Regions from separate parts of the Homo sapiens genome. Here region 2 is linked to region 1. The links are contacts of gene promoters, found by promoter capture Hi-C in human tissues and cell types (Jung and others, 2019). All regions are on one chromosome and are shown on one strand. The core of a region is centred on a gene start or on the middle of the fragment in contact, and the rest is flanking DNA. Distances in the headings are between cores, read along the strand shown. Region 1 holds the start of PPA1 (inorganic pyrophosphatase 1). Region 2 overlaps EIF4EBP2 (eukaryotic translation initiation factor 4E binding protein 2).

Region 1 (5,433 bases), core at 659-3,158:
GAATACATTCGATGAAACAAGAGCCAGTGTGCAAGTCTGGAGGTCAGTGAGACTTTATTATCTTGCTCTGAGCTGGCAGGAGGCAAAGGGAAAGTGTATGTAGAACATTATTATTGCATCACTGCTGTCTTCTTAAGTCAGTCACAGATGAGAGTCTGGGTTTTTCCAAGAAAATTGGTTCCATCTGCTCAAAGGCAGAAAAGTGATAGAGCAGTTCAATCAAAAGAGCATCCCCTTAAAATATTCTTTGAACTTGATCCTACTTTTTTTTCTGAAACAGAGTCTCGCTCTGTCACCCAGGCTGGAATGCACTGGCGTGATCTCAACTCACCGCAACCTCCGCCTCTCGGGATCAAGTGTTCTCCTGCCTCAGTCTCCCGAGTAGCTGGGATTACAGGCGCGTGCAACCACGCCCAGCTAATTTTTGTATTTTTACTAGGGACAGGGTTTCACTGTGTTGGCCAGGCTGGTTTCCAACTCCTGACGTCGGGTAATCCGCCCACCTCGGCCTCCCAAAGTGCTGGGATTGAAGGCGTAAGTCACCGCGCCTGGCCTTGACCCTAATTATTGACTAAACTATTGCTTCGCTAATTTTTTTTCCTGCCCTTCTGTTTTAACAGCAGTAAAACAGTGTGGTGAAATGTTCAAAAAATCAGTGAATCACAGCCTTCTGAAAATTAATGGGTGTCAGTGAGGTTTGGGAGTTGGATGGAGACAAAGGGAGCGACACCATAACTAACTGGAGATCTTACTAGGTTTTCATTTAATATTCATTTTTTACAATAGACATTGTTTGGAAAAAAGGGTTTAATTCAAAATGTCATTAAGGCACATTATCTTTAATGTTCTAGAAAAAGTTATTTAAAGAAATCCTGGCCATGAAATTAAAATAAATAAATAAATAAAACCAGGCATTCTTTGAAATGTGAATAATAATTTGCTAATTTATATTTAGGATTGTGGATATACTTTTTTTCTTTTACATGTATTCCTGGGGAGGTAAGTGATGCAAATATTTTCCCACTGCCTCAATCAGACTTTAGTTTTTGGGGTCTGGCCTGATATGATGGAATATAAACAGGAAATCAAGATCAGAAGAGCCTGTCCCTGAGAACACTCCTTCACGGGACTCTAGCTCACGCCTGGACCTTCCCAGTGCTTCCATCTGAAGCCCCTGGAGACCCAGGTGGGTTAAGTAGGGTGGCAGGGGGGATGGAGGGGGCGGGGGGCGCGGGGGCGTAAATCCTCCCCCACTGGGGAGGGTGACAGTAACAACTTCCAGATTGTTTACAAAGATACAGGCTCTGCTTCAGGCATTTGACGTGTATTAACTCGGGTAATCATCCCAGTAACTCATGAAATAGTTATATTATTATCTTCACTTCCCAGATAAGCAACGGAGTGAGAGAGATTATAGAAAGTGGAGAAGCGAGTACCTTACTAGTAGCCACTAGGGGTGTCAGTAATATGGCTCAACTTTGTTACGACGGATCAGAAAAATGCTCACCTTTAAGACCGCAAGCAGAGCCTGTCTGGGGAAGCAGGTGACTTATCAACGCCTTTTGAGATAAGGAATAGGACTGCGGGGAGGAGTGTGTGAGAATCAAAGGTGAGTTCCCTGTGTGCGTGGTCGGCGGTCAACTCCTAGCTAGTCCAAGCTTAGAGCCTGCGCATTTGCCCTCCCGGGTCAGAGCCCAAAGCCGAAGGAACAGAACCAGCGCCGGCGGCAGCCACGTGGCCCAGCCTCTGAGCCCTAGCTGCCATCGCGGAGGCTGGGCCCGAGGGGCGGGGCTGGGGAGTGCGGACACCCGGGCCTGGCGGAGTGCGCCTGCGCACGGGGTTGGCCCGGCGGGGGTGGGAACACTAGCAGAGCCGCGTTAAAGGCGCTCCCCGCCCCGCCCGCCGGTCCAGTGCTCGCAGTGCGCAGGCGTGGGGCTCTCTCCTTGTCAGTCGGCGCCGCGTGCGGGCTGGTGGCTCTGTGGCAGCGGCGGCGGCAGGACTCCGGCACTATGAGCGGCTTCAGCACCGAGGAGCGCGCCGCGCCCTTCTCCCTGGAGTACCGAGTCTTCCTCAGTGAGTGTCTGCGGCCCGTGGCCCCTCCGCGCCCGTCCGCCCATTCATTCCCGGGCCTTGCCTCCCCGGGAGGGTGCGGCCCGCGCTCGGCCCCAGGTCTCCGACGCGGGCCCGTCTCCTCGGGCGCGTTGTGGGGCCTGGCCGGCCTCACATTGCATACTTGCCGCCGCCGGTCGGGGCGGCGAGGGTCGCCTCCGGCCATCCCTCCCCGCTGAACGGAGATGGTCCCTTTGTCACGCCTCGGGGTACCCGAACCTGGGCCCAGCTAGTTTTGCAGGTGTCTGGCTCTGACAGGGTCTGTTGGGAAAAGGAAATCACCGACCCACCCTAGAAAGGTGCTTGGAAGTAACATAATTCCCGTAAGAGGATTGCTCAGTTTGGAGAAAAGGCGACTCCGGGCCGGGGGGGGCAGTGACTTCCTAAAGACCTTAATTCCGCCGCCGTAGCTCAGATTATCGGCGCTGAGCGGAGCCAAGTCCACCCCCTCGTTTTACAGACGGGAAAACTGAGGCCCGGATCGGGAGCCGTCTGTGAAGGCGCTGGACCGGTCCTCCGCGGCCCGGTCGTGCTCCTGCCTCTGCGCCGCCTGTTTTCCCTCAGCGCCGATGCTGGGAATGCTCCTTATGAAACAGAAAGCTGTTTCCCTCAAATCAAACAGATGACGTCAGTCTGGAAACAAGACTGAGAAAGTGCCAAGTTTTTACCTTTGCAGGATTCGGCGTCTAGGGGGTACCTACCCCGGGTCCTGCACCTAGGGCTGCACGGGGAAACCGGGAGGCTGCATGCTGGCGCCCTCCACGCTCCTTAGGGCACCACGTTTTTTTGGCCTTGTAGGTGGAGGAAAGCTACTTGGGGTTTTTCTTTATCCTCTTACTCCCCCCACCCCCAGCTACTAGGAGTAGATTATGGGCGATAACGGAGGCGTTCGTAAATGTGTCACCACAGGCGCTTCTATTGTAACCTCTTTACAGTTTTATTTGGAAGGAAATGGGCAGGTGCCTCGAACTCTGAGTTGGTGTATGAAGGAAGGGGAAGCGGGGAGTAGAGGAGACGAATGAATAGGCATTGAAGGAACAAAAAGTAGCCTGGTGCGGGAGGAAAAGGAAAGCGAACTGTAAAGCTTACACATCTAGCCAAAGGTTAACTATCAGGTAAAATCCAGGAAGGGTGAGAACTACCCCCCACTCTCCATTTTATTTAATTTTGCAATTAAGCAGCAAGGACAGTCCAGTAACTTTTGACTAATAATTCATGGGACTGTTTTTCTGGAAATAGTGTTGGCTCCAGAATTTCTCTGTAGGAAAGGCTTACAGAGGTGACTGTCTGGTTTGAAGGTGAGGGGTGGATCTTCAAGCTATATATGCAGAACAAACACACTGCTTTTACTTAGGTTATTTATTTGCAATTAATATTTGGTGGCCGTTATGGGAGACCAAAGCTACTCCTAGAATTTGGCACTAGCTGAAGTAACTGTTTTTATCAAGTGGAACTCTCTGGAACTTAAGAAATACTAATAATTAGAACCCACTACATAGTTATCCAATTTTAAGTGCTTTATCCTTCCTTAATAGAAATAAACTTTTTTAAGCTTTATAATATTACATTTGTCAATTTCTTTAAAACTGATAAAGGGCTGGACAGACTGCAAAGTCACAATTGGCCCTAAAGGGACTTTTATGTTTTATTGTTTGTTTTTTGAAACAAAGTCTCGCTCTGTTGCCCAGGCTGGAGTGCAGTGGCATGATCTTGGCTCATTGCAACTTCAGCCTCCCGGGTTCAAGTGATTCTCCTGCCTCAGCCTCCCAAGTAGCTGGGATTACAGGCACTTGCCACCATGCCTGACTAATTTTTGTATTTTTAGTAGAGACGGGGTTTCACCATGTTGGCCAGGCTGGTCTTGAACTCCTTACCTCCAGTGATCCACCTGCTTTGGCCTTCCAAAGTGCTGGGATTACAGGCGTGAGCCACCGTGCCTGGCCTCCACTTTGATTTTTAAACTTGAAGGGATGCGATGTGGACAGTAGGTTTCCTAAAGAATACTGAAGAAGTTTTAAAATTACTTTTTGGCTATAGTTAGGCCTCTAGAATATATTAGTAATATATATCTAGAATATAATAGAAATTATTTGTGAAGATGTTTGTTGCAACTTGATTATCCTTAAAGAAAGTCATAATCTAAGATGGCTGGCTGTCTCTGGGAACACCACTTTTAGCAACATTGTTTAGTAAAGTGGTCCCCTCCCTTCCTCCCAAGTACTTCATAATGGTTCTGTAAACTTAACTGATGTAAGATCAGTCCAAAACAATTTAATCGCCTTTTGTGTCCTCAGTAGTCTCTGCTCTCACTATAGAGATTAGTACTTATTAGATGCCTACAGAGTGCATAGGATGTAAACCCAGCCTAGCCTGGGAGTACAGTCAGGAGAAGTGAAGTATACAAACAGTTTTTCTAGTGTAAGAATAATATCTTGGTTTAAAAATGTGTACTGGTCGGGTGCAGGGTGCGGTGGCTCACCCCTGTAATTCCAGCCCTTTGGGAGGCTGAGGTGGGCAGACTGCTTTGAGCTCAGGAGTTGGAGACCAGCCTGGGGAACATGGCAACACCACCTCCCTACAAAAGACACAAAAATTAGCCAGACGTAGTGGCTCATGCCTGTAGTTCCAGCGGCTCAGGAGGCTGAGGCTGGAGGATCACTTGAGCCTTCAAGAGGGAAACAGAAGTGGCAGTGAGCCAAGATCACACCATTGCACACCATCCTGGGTGACAGAGTAAGGGACCTTATCTCAGAAAAAAAAAATGTGTACTGTGGGCATTTAGCAATACAATTAATTATAGTAATAACTTTTTCTAATTTATTTTGCAGAAAATGAGAAAGGACAATATATATCTCCATTTCATGATATTCCAATTTATGCAGATAAGGTAAGGCATCCTTGTTTTTGGACACAGTCTCTTTACTCAGATCAGCTAGTTCTACATATGAATTTTCTTATATGTCTCTCAACAAGTGCTTAAAATGCCTCGTTGTGCTGTGAGCTAAAGGTCTGTTGATTAGGCTGGGCGTGGTGGCTCACGCCTGTAATCCCAGCACTTTGGGAGGCTGAGGCGGGTGGAGGGCTTGAGTCCAGAAGTTCAAGAACAGCCTGGGCAACATGGTGAAACCCTGTCTCTACAAAAAATACAAAAATTAGCCGGGCATGGTGGCATGTGTCTGTAGTCTCAGCTACTTGGAAGGCTGAGGTGAGAGGATCGCTTGTGCCTGGGAGGCAGAGGTTGCAGTGAGCCGAGATGGCACTACTGTACTCCAGCTGGGTGACAGAGTGAGACCCTGTCTCAAAAAAAAAGGTCCATTGACTAAA
Region 2 (2,958 bases), core at 459-2,958, 190 kb before region 1:
GATACCATGGGCCAGAACCATCATGTTAAACTACTCCCAAATTCTTAACCCACAGAAACTGACAGATAATGTTTACTATTTTAACATACTAAATTTAGGGTAATTTTTTACACAGCAATAGATAACTAATACAGGTGGAAGGACAAAACTCTTGGCTTGGAAGCCCAATACCTAGAAAGCCAGCTTCTCTGTATCTGTGCCCTTGAAAATGCTGTACCTATTTAAACAGAATATGAGAACTGCTGAACTCAATAAACCACACTAAAAAGAAGACAGAATCATGACAATGCATGTCTGCTGTTGGAATTTGAAGGGAAGTCACTTCTCATTAAGCTCGATTGTCCGCCCAAGTATAGAAGCATGGGTTCCTCATAAAAAGAAAACTACAAATGGTCACTAAGATGTTAAGAGCTGTCTCAAAGTGGTAACTTAAGAGTGCTCCTTCTCTCTAAAAAACCCCGGACACATTATTCATTAAGGGTTTCATCTGTGAGGTTCCCTCCAAACATGCAGAGGTAAACCACTCAATGGACTCTGGCTTGTTCTAAAAATAATTCCATGAGGCATGACACAAAGGTATCATCTATTGAAAGTTTATCTCATGCCTTGTGAAATTATTTTTTAAATGCCAATTTATCTCCATAAGATAAAAGAAAGACTGTCTAGTAGTGGTGGCCTCTGGGAAAGAACTGCACCAAGCTGTAAGGAAGTCCTTGCAGAGAAGGGTAAGGGATTGAACAGCTGCTGCATTATACAGCTGACACTCCCAAGAAATACTAAAAACATGCCTTCTGATTAGGGGGTCACATGCAGAAGCTCCCCAAGACAGCAAGAAAAAGGAAAATGGCATCTTGATACTACTAAAGCTCATGCTTTAAATCCATTCCTCACCGTTCAGTGAGGAAGCCAAGTTTTCACACATAGCAATAAAGATCAAGAAGAGTTCACTCTTCTGCTCACTGACAGACTGACTAGCTGCTAGTTGGGTCAAATTCCACAGGATGCCAAGGCCAGTGTATGAAGAATGAAAAGCTTCATTCCCAAAGAATCAGGCTCCCCGGGGTACAAAGAGGTCCTGAGCATGCTTCTTATGTAAATTACAGAGCAACTTAGGTTTTTCCAAGAATATGTAAAATGAGACTTGGAGTTTAATTAAAAACAGAACAGGGATACATTAAACAAACAAACAAAAATTACTTTTCTGATTATCAATTTTTTTTGAGACTCAAAGCATCCCCAAAACATTGGAGATCCAGCTTATTCCTGAGACATCAACCATCACAAAAGGTTTTCACTCTGAACTATTCACATTTTTGTGGCAGAAAACAGAACAAAGTTCTGCAGACATCCTTCCTCTCTTTCTAAAATATATTCACAAACAGGGTCTTTTCATAGTTCAAAAGAAAAACAAACAGGTTTCTTTCTTGGCCAAATGGCCTGTTACTCTCACCCTGGGATCTGATTTCTTAATAAAAAAGTTCAGGGCACCAAATCCAACCAGAAATTCCCAGGACACCAGTGGCTACTTAACTATGAGGGGATGGATGCTTTTGTCTTTCTATGAGGGGAATCATTCTCCCGGGATTATTATGCTGCTCAACAGCCCCAGGACAGGTAGGTGGGAAGGAGGGTGAATGCAAAAGCGAAAGGGTCACAGAAAAGAATGAGGCTTTCTTGAACAACCCATAGCAAGGCAGAATGGTCCAGTTTTACAAACCACCCACTACAAACTCCAAACATGCACACCCAAAACTAGAGGGGAAAGGAAAGAGCTCCTGGGGGACTAGGGGAGACAAAAGATGGTGACATAGAACAGCAGACTTGCCTATGAACGTTTCTCAACTTCCTAACACTGGAAGATGTTTAATTAAAAAGTTGCTGTTCAAAATTGTACTGAAAACATATCTAAAAATAGGTCTGTAGTCATCTTAAAAATAAAAGGTCACTTCTCAGATAAGAGGAGTGACAGATATTCTCAGATACCAACACTTCAGGTATCTTTGATGTAAATTTGAAAAATGGCCTGGTAGAGAAAAAGGAAGGAAAGGAAGGAGAGAGGAAGAAAGTGAGGGAGGTAGGGAGAGAAATTCAGAGTACAACAGGAAAGGCAAGAAAACTGGGAGGAACACATTTTTTAAGCCCATGCTTATCTATCCCAGCAGCCAAACAAAGCAGATCCACAAAGGAAAAAAATGCAGTTCTTTTCTAAGAACATTCTGAAAATCAACTTCAAACTCAAAACATAAGAAACTGCAATCTAAGAACAACTACCACAATGCTCACTGGACTTAAAAATGACGACTGAGACCGGGTACTCAAATGGGTCAACGTTCTTCAGCGGTCATTCTTAGGCATTATCTGACAGAATACTATGATCAGGCCTTACCCACCAAGTGGAAGCTAAAGTGCCTCTATTACTTGGTATGGACCTGCTCTAGGAGCAGACAAAATCACTTTGCTTTCTTGAAGTACAAGAGGACTCTGCCAGCAACGAGATGCAAGCAGGGAGGAGTGGCAGAAGAAGAGCAAAACTGGTTACCAAGGGCTCTCTTCTGATGTACAGAGTTAAAAATATCTGCACAAATGCACTAAGTAAAAGAATGGGAAGATGAACTATAATACCAAAGACAGAAGACATTCCTCCCAGAGGAAAGAAAGGAAGTGGACCTCAAAACAGTGTCACAGGGTAACGCTACCAGAGTTGCACAAGCTGTGCTCTGTCCCGAGGGACGAATACCTCAAGGTAAAAGGGAAAGCAGCTCTCTTTTTATCATTTCCCCCTGCTGGTTTTAAAGACCCCAAGCCCAGACTCTTGCAACACTGAACCATAGGTGGGATACAGGGAGGAGAGACAGAGGGTAAGGAATATGAATGGTGTTAGGCCCACCAAGCTCTGTATCCCTTCCCCAGACTTCCCAGCCAGGCAGTTGTTGGTAGGTTGATATTTGATTTGGGACA

Evidence for each region. Contacts are between HindIII fragments. The study calls those that stand out against the background at their distance.
Region 2: a contact is called between a fragment that was not itself captured here and the fragment with the promoter of PPA1 in region 1, in 1 of the 25 tissues and cell types used here (thymus).

The regions. Positions count from the first base shown.
Region 1 is chr10:70,229,904-70,235,336 of GRCh38, reverse strand. PPA1 (inorganic pyrophosphatase 1) reads left to right here and starts at 1,908. Exons shown (of 11, transcript NM_021129.4): 1 at 1,908-2,073; 2 at 4,938-4,996. The coding sequence starts at 2,010. RefSeq lists a silencer at 1,697-2,266. The HindIII fragment of the contact is 11,213 bases long and covers 1-2,426 here.
Region 2 is chr10:70,422,087-70,425,044 of GRCh38, reverse strand. It overlaps EIF4EBP2 (eukaryotic translation initiation factor 4E binding protein 2), which reads right to left. Exons shown (of 3, transcript NM_004096.5): 3 at 1-2,958. Among named protein-coding and RNA genes, the nearest start is that of NODAL, 18 kb to the left of the region's middle. The HindIII fragment of the contact is 4,938 bases long and covers 1-2,958 here.